Linked DNA regions of Homo sapiens: region 2 is linked to region 1. The links are contacts of gene promoters, found by promoter capture Hi-C in human tissues and cell types (Jung and others, 2019). All regions are on one chromosome and are shown on one strand. Each heading gives the region's core, a stretch centred on a gene start or on the middle of the fragment in contact. The rest is flanking DNA. Distances are from core to core; before and after follow the strand shown. Region 1 holds the start of WDR4 (WDR4 tRNA N7-guanosine methyltransferase non-catalytic subunit). Region 2 overlaps ABCG1 (ATP binding cassette subfamily G member 1).

Region 1 (6,907 bases), core at 1,634-4,133:
CCAGCTAATTTTTGTATTTTTAGTAGAGATGGGGTTTCACCGTGTTGGCCAGGCTGGTCTCAAACTCCTGACCTCAGGTGATCTGCTCGCCTTGGCCTCCTAAAGTGTTGGGATTACAGGTGTGAGCCACTGCACCCGGCCAATCCATAAGTTTCTTAATTGAAAAAGAAAGCCCACACTCACTCTAGGCTAATGTAATCAATGATTTATAAAAATGGCCATAGTTGGGCCGGGTGCAGTGGCTCACGCCTGTAATCCCAACACTTTGGGAGGCCGAGGCGGGCAGATCACCTGAGGTCAGGAGTTTGAGACCAGCCTGACTAACATGGATCATGGATCACGCCTGTAATCCCAGCACTTTGGGAGGCCAAGGTAGGAGAATCAATTGAGGTCAGGAGTTTGAGACCAGCCTGGCCAACATGGTGAAACCCCGTCTCTACTAAAAATACAAAATTAGCTGGGCACGGTGGCACATGCCTGTAATTCCAGCTACTTGGGAGGCTGATGCAGAATCGCTTGAACCCGGGAGGCAGAGGTTTTGGTGAGCGGAGATCACGCCATTGCACTCCAGCCTGGGCAACAAGAGTGAAACTCCGCCTCAAAAAAAAAGAAAAAAAGAAAGCCATAGTTTTTATGAGCTTGTTGATCTATATCTAGGACTACAAGGAAGATATGCATGCTACAGACATTTGTACCTAGCAGTAGGTGCTACTGTAACATGTGGCATTAGCTTTGGACTAGAAGTCTGGAAAAGCAGTGGGGAAACTGGTAGTGAACACTGGAACAATGGTGAGGAAAACTACGGGAGGTGGACAAATGGTGAACAACTCTATGTCACGGTGAAGGATTTGTAAAATTGTTGCCCTTCAGTAAGATGGGCAGAGAAAAAGGCAACTACTGAACTCTGGGACTTGAAAAAGATCATATCAGTATAATGTTGAGATTAACCTGTGTTTCTTTTGCTTGAATATGTTGAGACACTTATAGAAAAGAGTGTGGTTAAAAACAAACAAACAAACAAACTGGCCAGCAGAATTTAGAGCACACTTTGGGTTGAAGCTGGGGAAAGTATTATTAGACCCAATAGTTGGTAACAAGTTCTCAAAGTAAGTCATAACCTGGGCCAAAGATCAAATTCAGAGTGGCGCTAATAAAATATGGCCTTAAGAATAATGCTGAAGTCAAGGTGATCTCAATGATTTAAATGTTAACAAGTGGCTGGGCGCGGTGGCTCACGCCTGTAATCCCAGCACTTTGGGAGGCCGAGGCAGGCGGATCACAAGGTCAGGAGATCCAGAACATCCTGGCTAACATGGTGAAACCCCGTCTCCACTGAAAAATACAAAAAATTAGCCAGGCGTGGTGGCGGGCGCCTGTAGTCCCAGCTACTCAGGAGGCTGAGGCAGGAGAATGGCGTGAACTCGGGAGGTGGAGGTTGCACTTCAGCCTGGGCGACAGAGCGAGACTCCGTCTAAAAAAAAAAAAAAGACTAGTGGGAGTGGCTTCTTGGGCATGGAGAGCACCTGAATCAGATTCTTGAGAAGCCCATAAAGCTTTTAAGGGACTTGTAGTGAACAAAGCACCACCAGCTGCCAAAATGTGGACAGAACAGTTTAGAGTGAAAAAAGGTCTGTGGGCTCACAATTTGCTAATGACAGGAAGGAGGTTGAGAAAGTTTCTCAAAGGGCACATTCTTCAACATGGCCAAGAAGGTGCTGGAAAAGGAGGGACACCCAAGAGGGCAGAGGCAAGAGCTGTGCTGAGATACAGCCTGGGGAGATACTCCCAGGAAGCAGAACTCGGGCCTGGTTAAGACTTCTTATTCTTGTAGGGCCTGAAAACATCTTCCAGTAGGATTTCAGAATTGCTTTGGACCAGTGATTACTGTGTCTCCTCCTCTTCTCATTTTCACATGCAAGTATTTATTGTGGTTATCTGGTCCCGGCTCACCATCATATATTGCGTGCACGGGAGAGAAAATTAATCTTTTTAGTTTGTAAGTCTCTGGATCAAGAGGAGCTGCACCGGACAAGCCAATCTAAAACAGACCGTGAGATCCTAGATTTTGTGCCTGATGCTGGGATTGTAAGAGGCTTTTGGGGATCTTGGGATGAACACTGGAAACTAACCATAGTTTGGGTTGAAAATATCACTACAGTTCGGAGATTTTAAGGCATCTGTGGCTTGTCTAAGTGCAAAGATTCAGTAGGCTTACTTCTAGCGACCTCAGACTTGACGCCACCCGAGACACCCTCACCCATGACCACATCTTGGACATTTTTTTTTTTTTTGAGAGAGAGTCTCGCTCTGTCGCCCTGGCTGGAGTGCAGCGGGGGCGATCTCGACTCACTGCAACCTCCGCCTCCCGGGTTCAGGCAATTCTTCTGTCTCAGCCTCCCAAGTAGTTGGGGCTACAGTCGCACGCCACCACGCCCAACAAATTTTTGTACTTTTAGTAGAAACGGGGTTTCACCATATTGGTCAGGCTGCTCTCGAACTGCTGACTTCATGTGAGCCACGGCCCCCGGTTCATTCACTTCTTGAAGGATCATTTACCAGGCATCTAGTAGCCATCATCAGGTCCTACGTCTCTCCAGCTACCGCGGAAAAAGATCCAGAACCAGCCCTACCCCGTCTAGAGGAAAGGATGAACATTAGGCAAGTACTTGGAATCGTGCGAAGTGCACTCCATCAGATCACCTTGGTGAGTGAACTGCCAAACCCGAAACACCGAAGGCCACCAGCCACAACCCGGAGGGCGGTCACAGCACCTTTCACGCATGCTCAAGGCAGGCTCGTCCTTGAGCATGCGCGGTACGTGGGGTATACGTCATCTCTCGGCGTCTGCGCCTGGCGTCACCGACCGGTGCGGACAGGAAGAGGCTCTGGGCTGGCACATGTGTATGGCGGTGAGGCGGGCGGGTACATGGCGGGCTCTGTGGGACTGGCGTTGTGCGGGCAGACGTTGGTGGTGCGGGGCGGCAGCCGATTCCTGGCCACCTCCATAGCAAGCAGGTGAGGGGGCCTTGGTCTTGGAACAGGGAGACCAGGCTGCGGGCGCGCGTCGGGTCCTGGCGACCCCGCTTCTCCCGCACCGCCTGGTCGCACCCACTCTGGGGTGACCCCGGGGAACTCCGCTCCAGCCCACGAGTCCTCCGCCGCAGTCTCGGCCTGGCCGCGTCTCTGCGCCTGGAGGGTCCGCTTTCGCCGTCCGCTCTCGGCGTCCGCTCCCCGGCTCCGGCGCGCTCCTTGCACTAGATGGCTGGTCTGCGGTGTTCTTGCCCGGTTAGCGCCGCCGGGTCGCTTCCGGTCTCCGCGGCGCCGGCGGGGACCGGGTAGGTAGAGCACGTGGGGCGACGCTGACCAGTCAGCAAGGCCCGGCCGAACACGCTCTGCAGAACTGGGAAGAAGCGGGTCTCGGGTCTCCCTGGTGAGAAGGGAGGGGCTTACTCACTGCGAGCTCACTGACCTCCAAGCGCGCTCCCTCTTTTTGCAGGGTTGTCTGTTCCCTCTTCCCGGCCTGCATCCACTCACCTGGCCTTAATTGCTCCTTAGGGCTCCAAGTCATCTCCGACACTTACCCAACCCAAGGGTGCACGTGGAGCTCGCAGTGCGCACCTCCCTAGTGGCCCTTCGCACGGCTCGGGTTTTGCTTTCCGTAATTTTATTCTCCTTCCTTAGTGTATCGCCAGTGCTAGGACGACGCAGGGGATTTTTAACTTAGTAAATGTTTGTTGATGGAACAGTCCTAACTCAGGACTCTCGGAGCAATTAGTAGTGCTGTCAGTTTCAGCCCCTCGTTTCCTTTCCCAGGTTATTTGTGATTTCATATTTGAAACGGACGACGTGTCTGTCAGATATACTGTATATTTTTTGTTCGTTTGGTTTTAGAAAGCCAATTCGATGTTAAGTTAGGTCTCACAAAAATTGTACTCAGAAACCCGTCACATATCCCAGATGATTTTGTTTTAGAGACTCACGGTCTAATATCTGCCAGAGTGAGCTGTGGATATATTAGACATGATTTGCTTACCTTCAGTCTTTGCATTTTGAGGAAATTCTAGTGGCTGGTGGAGTTTCTGACTTGGAAGACAAGTCCACGGTTCCATATGGAAAGTTTTTTGGTGCACTCGCTTTAAAGGCTATAAATATGTACAAGATACGTGCCAGGGGGTGAGGATGGGATAAACCGAAGTTTAGGTTCAGTATGGAAAATGGGTGATTCTTATGTTGGTAAGTGCCTGGGGTCATGGGAACACTTTCAGGTAGGTGAGATATGTTTCTAAATAGTAATGGCTCTTTGAAATTTGTATACAGAATCCCACTGAACGCTCAACAGTATCAGAACATAATTTCTTTTTTTTCTTTTTTTTTTTTTTTGAGGAGTCTCGCTTTGTCGCCCAGGCTGGAGTGCAGTGGCGCGATCTTGGCTCACTGCAAGCTCCGCCTCCCGGGTTCACGCCATTCTCCTGCCTCAGCCTCCCGAGTAGTTGGGACTGCAGGCGCCTGCCACCATGCCTGGCTAATTTTTTATATTTTTAGTGGAGATGGGGGTTTCACTGTGTTAGCCAGGCTGGTCTCGATCTCCTGACCTCGTGATCCGCCCATCTCGGCCTCCCAAAGTGCTGGGATTACAGGCGTGAACCACCGCGCCCGGCCCGTAATTTCTTATAACCATGTCGCATAGATTTTGTGGTGCCTAAAAGAATAGCATATTAATTCCTGTTGAGTATTTATCCCTCATTTGTTTTACTGAACTTTTTTTTCCCACAGAACTATGCAGTATGACGTACTCCAATAAGAGATTAAGCAAATAAAGTTTGTTAACTGTTCCCTGAAATATTGTATCTAGACAGTTTTCTTGTCAAGTATACAACTTTTAATTTAATGAGTGTGCAAATATTTTTTGTTCCACAGAGAAAAAAAATCAACTTTTTTTTTTTTTTTTTAACAAAGTGCTCTTTTAAAAATCATTGTTAGGCTGGGCGCAGTGGCTCTGCCTATAATCTCAGCACTTTGGGAGGCTGAGGCGGGCAGATCATCTGAGGTCAGGAGCTTGAGACCAGCCTGGCCAACATGGCGAAACCCCGTCTCTACCAAAACTACAAAAATTAGCCAGGCGTGGTGGCAGATACCTGTAATTCCAGCTACCGGGAAGGCTGAGGCGGGAGAATTGCTTGAATCCAGGAGGGGGAGGTTGCAGTGACCTGAGATCATGCCCTTGCACTCCAGCCTGAGTGATAGAGCGAGACTCCAACTCAAAAAAAAAAAAAAAAAAAAAAATTAGGGCCAGGCGCAGTGGCTCACATGGGCCAGGCGCAGTGGCTCACACCTGTGAGCACTTTGGGAGGCTGAGGTTGGTGGATCACCTGAGGTTGGGGATTTGAGATCACCCTGATCAACATGGAGAAACCCCGTTTCTACAAAAAGTAAAAATTAGCTGGGAGTGCTGGTGCATGCCTGTAATCTCAGCTACTGGGGAGGCTGAGGCAGGAGAATCGTTTGAACCTGGGAGGCGGAGGTTGCGGTGAGCCAAGATCGTGCCATTGTACTGGAGCCTGGACAACGAGAGCGAAACTCCGTCTCAAAAAAAAAAAATTTGTTATTTCTCTCTAATGATAACTCCTTTTAAAATTATTGTTATTTCTCTTTAGTGATGATGACAGCCTCTTCATCTATGACTGCAGTGCTGCAGAAAAGAAGTCACAAGAAAATAAAGGGTGAGATGTGGGGAAGCTTTTTCAGGGCCTGCTTTAATGGTTCGATAATGGGACCAGAGGGTCTAAGAAGCAATTGTTGTCCTACTTGCTGAATTCTTAGCTTCTGTCACACAGTGGTGCAGATAAGTAGCACCTCAGGAGAGACATGTAAAAGTAACTTTTAGGTTAGGCATTAAGAGTACATTGTTGGCTGAGCACGGTGGCTTATGCCTGTAATCCCAGCACTTTGGGAGGCCAAGGTGGGTGGATCACCTGAGGTCAGAATTTCCAGACCATCCTGGCCAACATGGCGAAACCCTGTCTCTACTAAAAATAAAAAAGTTAGCTGGGCGTGGTGGCAGGCACCTGTAATCCCGTCTACTTGGGAGGCTGAGGCACAAGAATCACTTGAACCTGGGAGGCGGAGGTTGCAGAGAGCTGAGATTGCGGCATTGCACTCCAGCCTGGGGAATAGAGCAAGACTCTGTCTCCCAAAAAAAAAAAGAGTACAGTGTTAGTGCCGGGTGCGGTGGCTCATGCCTATAATCTCAGCACTTTGGGAAGCCAGGGTGCTGACTGAGGTCAGAAGTTCAAAGCCAGCCTTGCCAATGTGATGAAACTCCATCTCTACTAAAAATAGCCAGGCATGCTGGTGGGCGCCTGTAGTCCCAGCTACTTGGGAGGCTGAGGTGGGAGAATCACTTGAACCTAGGAGGCGGAGGTTGCAGTCGGCCGAGGTTGCGCCACCGCACTCTCCAACCTGGGTGACACAGCAAGACTCCGTCTCAAAAAAAAAAAAAAAAAAAGCACAGTGTTAGGACTTTTCTAAATACTTTTAGTTTCTGTCAGTAATCACATCTTACTGGCTCCTTGAAGTAATGGTTGAAGGCGGGTGTAGGAAGTTAACTTCAGCTAATTGAGATATAAAAGTAGAGCATGTGAGTGTTTCGTATGGTGGCTTTCTTTAGTTATCATTGGTATTGTGGCTCAGTTTGTTTTATCGTTATTATTATTTTTTGAGACAGGGTCTCTCTGTTACCCCGGTTGGAGTGCAGTTGCACAAACATAACTCCCTGCAGCCTCGACCTCCTGGGTTCAGGTGATCTCCCGCCTCATCCCCCTAAGTACCTGGGACTACAGGCACATGCCAACATACCTAATTTTTTTTTGAGATGGAGTCTTGCCCTGTTGCCAGGCTGGAGTGCAGT
Region 2 (7,348 bases), core at 214-2,713, 640 kb after region 1:
AAAAAAGAGTGGGAATTGCAAAGTAAGACAAGACTGTAAATTAGACTTTAGGAAATGCAGTGCAGAAGAGAAGCTTTTGAAGTCTTTTAGCTTTATCAATTTATTGGCAAGGCAATGGCTGTGTTAACTGTGTTTCTAATCTGGTCCTGAGAGCTGGCACAGAGGACGGTGGAAATGGCCGACCTTCTTCTGTTAGGATCGAGTGTTACTAAATACTGAGAGAAGGGCTCAGGCAGGCTCTTGTCAGAACCTTGCACTGGGAGGGGACGAAGGAAGTTCAGGGTCTGGATGCCCTCCTGAATCCCTGTGAGCTCCCATGTCCACTCCTAGGATGCCCTCTCCACCCCCAGCTAACCTCATGTTCCAGCCTCTGCAAATAATTTTATCACTTACAGTGATGTTTTAGCAAGAAAAGAGCAATTTAAAACATTTTTTTAAAGCCAAAGATAGGCCGGGCGTGGGGGCTCACGCCTGTAATCCCAGCACTTTGGGAGGCCGAGATGGGCGGATCACGAGGTCAGGAGATTGAGACCATCCTGGTTAACATGGTGAAACCCCGTCTTTACTAAAAAATACAAAAAATTAGCCGGGCGTGGTGGCGGGCGCCTGTAGTCCCAGCTATTCGGGAGGCTGAGGCAGGAGAATGGCGTGAACCCGGGAGGCGGAGCTTGCAGTGAGCCGAGATCGCACCACTGCACTCCAGCCTGGGCGACAGAGTGAGACTCCGTCTCAAAAAAAAAAAAAAAAAAAAAAGCCAAAGATAAAGAGGGCTTACAGAAGAGGAAAGAAAATTACTAGTTTAGATAGAAACTGCACTTCTCTTTGCTTCTCTCCACCACCGCTGTCTGGACAGGGCGCCGGGAATCCTGCAAAAACCTCTCCACTCTCACGCCAATCCTCTGTTGCAGCCCCTCAGCAACTACTGTCTTTCCAGATTTTACAGAGGAACTGGCTGGGGGATAAATCAGATGATGATGGAGATCATGACAATCTTACTGCAGCTTGAACAGGTTTTACAAATAAGCAGAAAGGAACCTAATCTTCTTTATCCCGCCCAGGTGATATTATAAACCAGCGCACACACACACACACACACACACACACACACACACACACACACGCGCACACACACGGTATTAAAATATGGTTCTGTGAAACAGATTAAGATAAAAATAAAATCTGCTCTCTCTTAAATAATAATATAAATTGCTGAATCCAGGCACTTCTGCCCTGTTCCCTGGCGTGCAGCAGTCCACCACCCCCGAGGAAGGTACCCTGGAGGACATGAGCTTTAACTCTCCTCCCTGCAGAGGGAGGGGCCGACGGGCTCCCCACATTCATAGTGCGACTCGTGAGACACCACCTGGCCCTGCTGTCTGCATCTCTGACCACCCAGGTTCACAAGGAAAGCTGACTTTGAAGGCCAGGGAGTGGTGAGATGCTGAGGCTGCCTGACCATGGGAGAGCAGGGCCCTCACTCCTGCCTGTGGTGCAAGTGTGGGTGATGCCACCTCCTGCTCCAGTTTTCCCAGGGCTCAGGGTGGCTCCCACATGGCCATCAACTCCTCTTTACTCTAATTCAGCAGTTCTCAAAGTGGGATCCCTGGACCAGCAACAGCAGCATCGCCCCATACTTATCAGACACGGAACCCTGCCTGCCCCAAACCTGCTCACTCAGACCCCCGGGGGTGCAGCCCAGCCACCTGCATTTTCACAAGCCCTCAGGGCCATGGTGGAGCTCGCTTGATTGCCTCATTGCACTTCAGCCTCTGAAGTCACAAAAACCAAAAAACACAACAAACAACGATATGGTTCACTGCCCCGGTTCATGGTCGGCTCTAAAGGACTGGGATGTGGAAAGTGTGAAATAACACAAGAGCCGGAACAGAATGAATGTGCCCTAATGGCCAGCGTTCTCCAGCAGCCAAGTCACCCAGCCACCTCTCATCATGCTCCTTCCGCCCTCCTCAGCGTCACCACTTGGTTCCAGGTACCACACATCTATAATACAGCTCCCTCCTCCTCTCTCATTGTGCAGTTTGAGTTTTTGTGTTGTTTTGTTTTTAGGGACAGGGTCTCTGCTGTCACCCAGGCTGGAGTATGCAGCAGTGCTATCATAGCTTACTGCAGCCTTGAACTCCTAGCCTCAAGCAACCCTCCCCGCTCAGCCTCCTCAGTAGCTGGGACTACAGGTGCACACTACTATGCTCTGCTCATCTTATTTTCTGTAGAGACAGCGTCTCGCTATGTTGCTGAGGCTGGCCTTGGACTCCTGGGCACAAGCAGTCCTCCTGCCTTGGCCTCCCAAAGCACTGGGGTTATAGGCCTGAGCCACTGTGCCAGGCCCATTGTATAGTCTTTTTAAAAAGCCAATATTTCCTAAAGGAAACTCAGAAAATCAAAATACAGTAGTAAGAACTGCATGTGCTTTGTAACTTTGCTTAAAATAAAATGTACTGGAGTCTACTTTGTGGCTGGCCCCATATACTTTAGAAAGGGATTTCACTGTTTTGTGCTTTCAATGGCAGGCATATTTGTAAAACAAGTAACCAAAAACACCATGGGGAGTTCTTTTTTTTTTTTTTTTTTTGAGACAGGGTCTTGCTCTGTTGTCCAGGCTGGAGTGCAGTGGTGTGATAATGACTCACTGCAGCCTCAACCTCCTGGCCTCAAGTGATCCTCCCACCTCAGCCTCCCAAGTAACTGGGGCCACAGGCATGCCCCATGCCTGGCTTTTTTTTTTTTTTAATAGAGATAGGGTCTCTGATGCCCAGGCTGGTCTCGACCTCCTGCTCTCAAGCAATCCTCCCACCTCAGCCCCACAAGGTGCTGGAATTACAGGTGTGAGCTACTGCACCCAGCAGGGCATTTTTAATGCAAGAGAATCCCTTAGGAAACAGTATAAAATTATAAACACCTTAGGGATTTTGGGTTTTGTTTTTTTTTTGTTATTTTTTTTTTTTGAGACAGGGTCTCACTCTGTCACTCAGGCTGGAGTGCAGTGGTGCGATCTCAGCTCACTGCAACCTCTGCCTCTCGGGTTCAAGTGATTCTTGTGCCTCGGCCTCCTGAGTAGCTGGGACTACAGGCGTGTACCATCATGCCCAGCTAATTTTTGTATTTTTAGTAGAGATGGGGTTTCACCATGTTGGCCAGGCTAGTCTCAAACTCCTGACCTCAAGTAATTCACCCGCCTCAGCCTCCCAAAGTGCTGGGATTACTGCCCTGTGGATTTTTTAACTCCTCACAGAAACACACTCTGATGAATTTCCCCGTTTCTGTTTATGATGAGCTCACGGATGTTGTGGGGAGAAAAGCATCTCCACTGTGCACTTGGCTTTTACGATAAATGGATGCTGAAAGCTGGTGGCCCAGCCAGGGTCACCTCCGTCAGAATCCTGACAGGCAGTCACGTCTGAACGTGGCCAGTGCTCTCACTACGTGTCTGTGAAAGTCAGAAGGATAAGAGTCCCAGAGACCAACATGCTATTCACCAGGACTGTTGACTGTCAGCCCAGAGTGTCCATTCCAGATCCCAAGCCTCCTGGATTCCTTCAGAGGGTCTGCCCATGCCCTGAATTCCCTCCTAACTCCCCACCTGTGCCCTCGGTCCCCTGGGTGGTGCGGGAACGCACATCTGGTGGGTGTGAGCAAGCGTGGCCCGTGCTGGTCACGCTGTTTACTCTCCCTGAAGATGGACAGTAGGGCTTAATCTGGTCCAGGTCATGAGACCTGGCTGGCAGCCTCCACCATTAGACAACTCCCAAGCTCATCAGACTTTTCAATGATGCGGCTTCATTCTCATTAAAATTAACTTTCTGGCTGGGTGCGGTGGCTCACGCCTGTAATCCCAGCATTTTGGGAGGCCAAGGCGGGTGGATCACCTGAGGTCAGCAGTTCGAGACCGGCCTGGCCAACATGGCGAAACCCCATCTCTACTAAAAACACAAAAATTAGCCGGGTGTGATGGGCGCCTGTAATCCCAGCTACGTGGGAGGCTGAGGCAGAAGAATCACTTGAATCTGTGAGGCGGAGGTTGCAGTGAGCTGAGATTGCGCTACTGCACTCCAGACTGGGTGACAAAGCGAGACTCCATCTCAAAGAAAACACAAACCAAACAACTTTTTAAGCCATAAGTGTGAAGGCAGTAAACATTTTAATGTTTCAAGTTCACTGAAAAGGGCCATGGCCCTAGGCAGTCACTGGCTGTTTCATATGATCTCAAAGAGCAAACAGGAGGAGCCAGGGGTCAACTGGGCTAGGCTTGGTCCTGGGGTCCACCTGTTGGCAGCAGGAACTTGAACTCATCGCCCACCTGTCTCCAGGCCACAGTTTCCTCACTGATAACATGGAAGCAGTGCCTCGTGTGGCCGTTGGAGACCCAGCGTGGCAGGCACCGTGGTCTGGCATAACACTGTGTGACCTGCAGGCTACAGCCGCCCTCATCCTGCCACCTGCCCTCCTCTCCTGCCTGTCCCAAGATGAGCACACACAGCGTTCTCCAGTGCCCTGCAGAAGGCACCATGGGCTCCCACAACCACGGCCCAGGGGATGAAATGACACCATGCTCCCTTTCTGGGGCTCTAATTTGAGTGGTGAGATACTGGAAGCCTGGCAATCACCAGACACCCAAAAATGACCAAAGGGGAACCTTCCGGAGCTTAGGCCCCTTGCCCAGCTAGCTGATTCTGCAGAGGCCACGTGACAAAGGCTCATCACCCAAGTGATGTGAGCATCTACGACACAGAGCAGATGAGCAGTAGCCATCGTATTAGCCAGGGGCCAGGCCCCGGACGGTCTTCTGCCCCAACCGGAAGCTGGCTCTAGGAGCATGGGTCACCAAAGACACACAAAGGTAAGATGTAGCCCAGCCAGGGGACCAGTGTGGGGCTCTGGAAGCAGCTACCTGGGTCACCTCTTGGCTCTGCTACTTACAGCCCTGTGACCCCGGACCAGGCCCCTACACCTCCCCTTGCCCCTCCACTCTCAAAGGGCAGCAATGAGGCTCATGGGAGCACATAGGTGTGAGGCTCTGAGCACACTGCCCGGCGCCTAGGAAACACTAAATCAACAGTGGCCACCAACTATACCCTTGCTCTTTCCCTTTCATTTCTAAAGCCTAAGGTATCAAGCCACACTTCACATTTAGAATGAGAACTAAAAGGCTTTGATCCATCTTAGTGATTCTAAGCTATTATGATTTTATTACATCACATATAAGAAGGGTAGCCATGGTTTATTAAGTGCCACAAGCTGGTCACAGTGCTTCACAGGTATCAAGCTATTTGATCTAATAAGATGGATATTTTTATTATTAATATTTCCTTTTCACAGGAGGGGTAAGTCACCCAGTTGCCCTGCTAGTAGGCGGTGGAGCCAATTCTGAACCCAGACTCTCTTACTGTGGAGCCCACATTCCTGAGCTCTATCCTATACTGCCTCCTCCTTTACTGAGGGCATTTTGCTAACAAGTACTACACCTGGAATCATTTTTTTGAAAGAAATAGCGGGAGAAAGAAAATTTTAACTAAGCTCCACATATAGTTCAATTCATCTTAACCTCCTTGTTACATATTAATTTAGAATTACCACAAAGGAGAGTAAGTGCATTTTCTATAAAGCTACAACATTAATGGATTTACATTAAATATTTGCAAATCCAAGAACAATGTTCACGACCTGCCAATAGGTGTGAGACTGTGGCTCCCACCAACCCCAGAGCTGCTGCCACCTCTCCCTGCCACGAGCTGCCAACCAGAGCAGTGGGCACAACATCCTCAATTTTCAGTCATGACCATCTAGCCACAAGACTAAAACACGCAGGAGCTGATAACATCTCACATCCTCCTAAGATAACCTGCATCAACCTCGCCCGTGAGCCAAATTCTGAAGTGTAATGTTGCTTGCCAAGCTTTGTTTGAATGGTGGAAATTTCCATCCAGTAACTCACAAATGTAGATACTGAAATATAAATAGTTCAAAGATGCAAAGCTTGTCATCCAGCGATCTGAAAGTACTTGAGAGATCTCTCAGAAATAATAAGACTGTTACCTGTCTTGTACACGCAAGTACACAAGTCTCAAGATAGAGGGATTTAACGCGTCTGAAATTAGTCATAATATGAGCCATGAGGAAGAAACCAGAAGTCTCAGAAAAGGAACCATACAAAGATTCTCTTGGAGGACAACTCCAGGGAGCATGTAGCCTGTCTTGGGGGAAAGCACAGAGCTCAGAGTGTTGAGATTCGAAATCCCCATTTTGTGTAAGAGATGGCACTCTCTGTGATGCCCAAGCAAAGGCCCTCACTGCTTCCGGCCACAGCATCTTCCTCCCTCAAAAAGAATGGGTAGAAAACCTGACCGCAGGGTTGCTGTGAAGACAGAGTAAGTTACTGCTCACAGACTAATAAATACCAAGCTAATACTATTATTATTAGAAAGAGGAGTATTTGCCTTCATGAAACCAGGAACACGAAAATCAATTTTTAGCAAAATTTGACCTGTAACATTAAAATACCTTGAGCACTATTGTGTGCCAGCCCTGGCTGTAGTGATGACCTCTGCTATTCCTCACTCCAATCCTGAGTTTGGCACTTGGATCAGCCCTGTTCTGCAGATGCAAAAACTGAGGCCCAGGGTCACATGGTTAAGAAGAGGTGGAGCTGGCATTCAAGAGTAGGCTGCTTGACCCAGAATCCAGGCTCTTACCATTCCCCAGCCACCCCTCTGTCCATCCACGGTGCTGTGCGGCCAAAGAAACAGCCCTCAGAAACCACCTGCGTGAAGCTTAGTCAGAGGTGGCTCATGGGTTTGACACAGCAAGGGAAGATCAAAACAGCCCAGCATCTCAAGGCTCTTGGTTTTCCTCTCTACTTCTCCTCTCTACCAAGCTGTCTTTGAGGGTAAAAGTATAGGCTCTTCTACTGTGATTTAGCTTTTTGTGATTCCATTCATTCATTTGCATGCCAGCTCTGAGCCAGGCACTGGCTGGGCAGCTGAGACGCAGGGGTAATTTTGGAAGCTCAGAAGAGAAGCACAAAATCCCATGCTGAGTGCCATAATCCCATGATCGTAGGGGCAGAGGAGTACGAAGAGTAACCAAGAAAGACTCTCCTGGCCACAGGGTTAAGGGTGAATGAAGGAAGGCTTCCCCTAGCCTGGGGAGATGAGGTGGGTTCTTGGTAGAGAGAGTGGCCCAAAGAAAGCACAAATGCTAGAATGACTGGCAGTTCAGCCTGGCTAGCCCATGGGGAGTGGCTGCGGAGACGCAGGGCTGGGAGAGAAAAAGGGCTCCAAGAGAGCCCTGCTGGCCAGGCTAAGCTCTTTGAAATTCATATTCTAGAGACTTA

What was found. Contacts are between HindIII fragments. The study calls those that stand out against the background at their distance.
Region 2: a fragment that was not itself captured here is called in contact with the fragment with the promoter of WDR4 in region 1 in 1 of the 25 tissues and cell types used here (spleen).

The regions. Positions count from the first base shown.
Region 1 is chr21:42,875,515-42,882,421 of GRCh38, reverse strand. WDR4 (WDR4 tRNA N7-guanosine methyltransferase non-catalytic subunit) reads left to right here and starts at 2,883. Exons shown (of 11, transcript NM_018669.6): 1 at 2,883-3,015; 2 at 5,655-5,720. The coding sequence starts at 2,927. It overlaps LOC105372817 (a long non-coding RNA gene), which reads right to left and starts at 2,710. Exons shown (of 4, transcript XR_937765.3): 1 at 2,667-2,710. RefSeq lists enhancers at 2,631-2,980, 3,051-3,160, 3,191-3,240, 2,893-3,857, 3,858-4,821. The HindIII fragment of the contact is 11,595 bases long and covers 1-6,907 here.
Region 2 is chr21:42,237,220-42,244,567 of GRCh38, reverse strand. All of the region lies in intron 2 of ABCG1 (ATP binding cassette subfamily G member 1), which reads right to left. Among named protein-coding and RNA genes, the nearest start is that of ABCG1, 22 kb to the right of the region's middle. RefSeq lists an enhancer at 7,250-7,299. The HindIII fragment of the contact is 3,059 bases long and covers 1-2,992 here.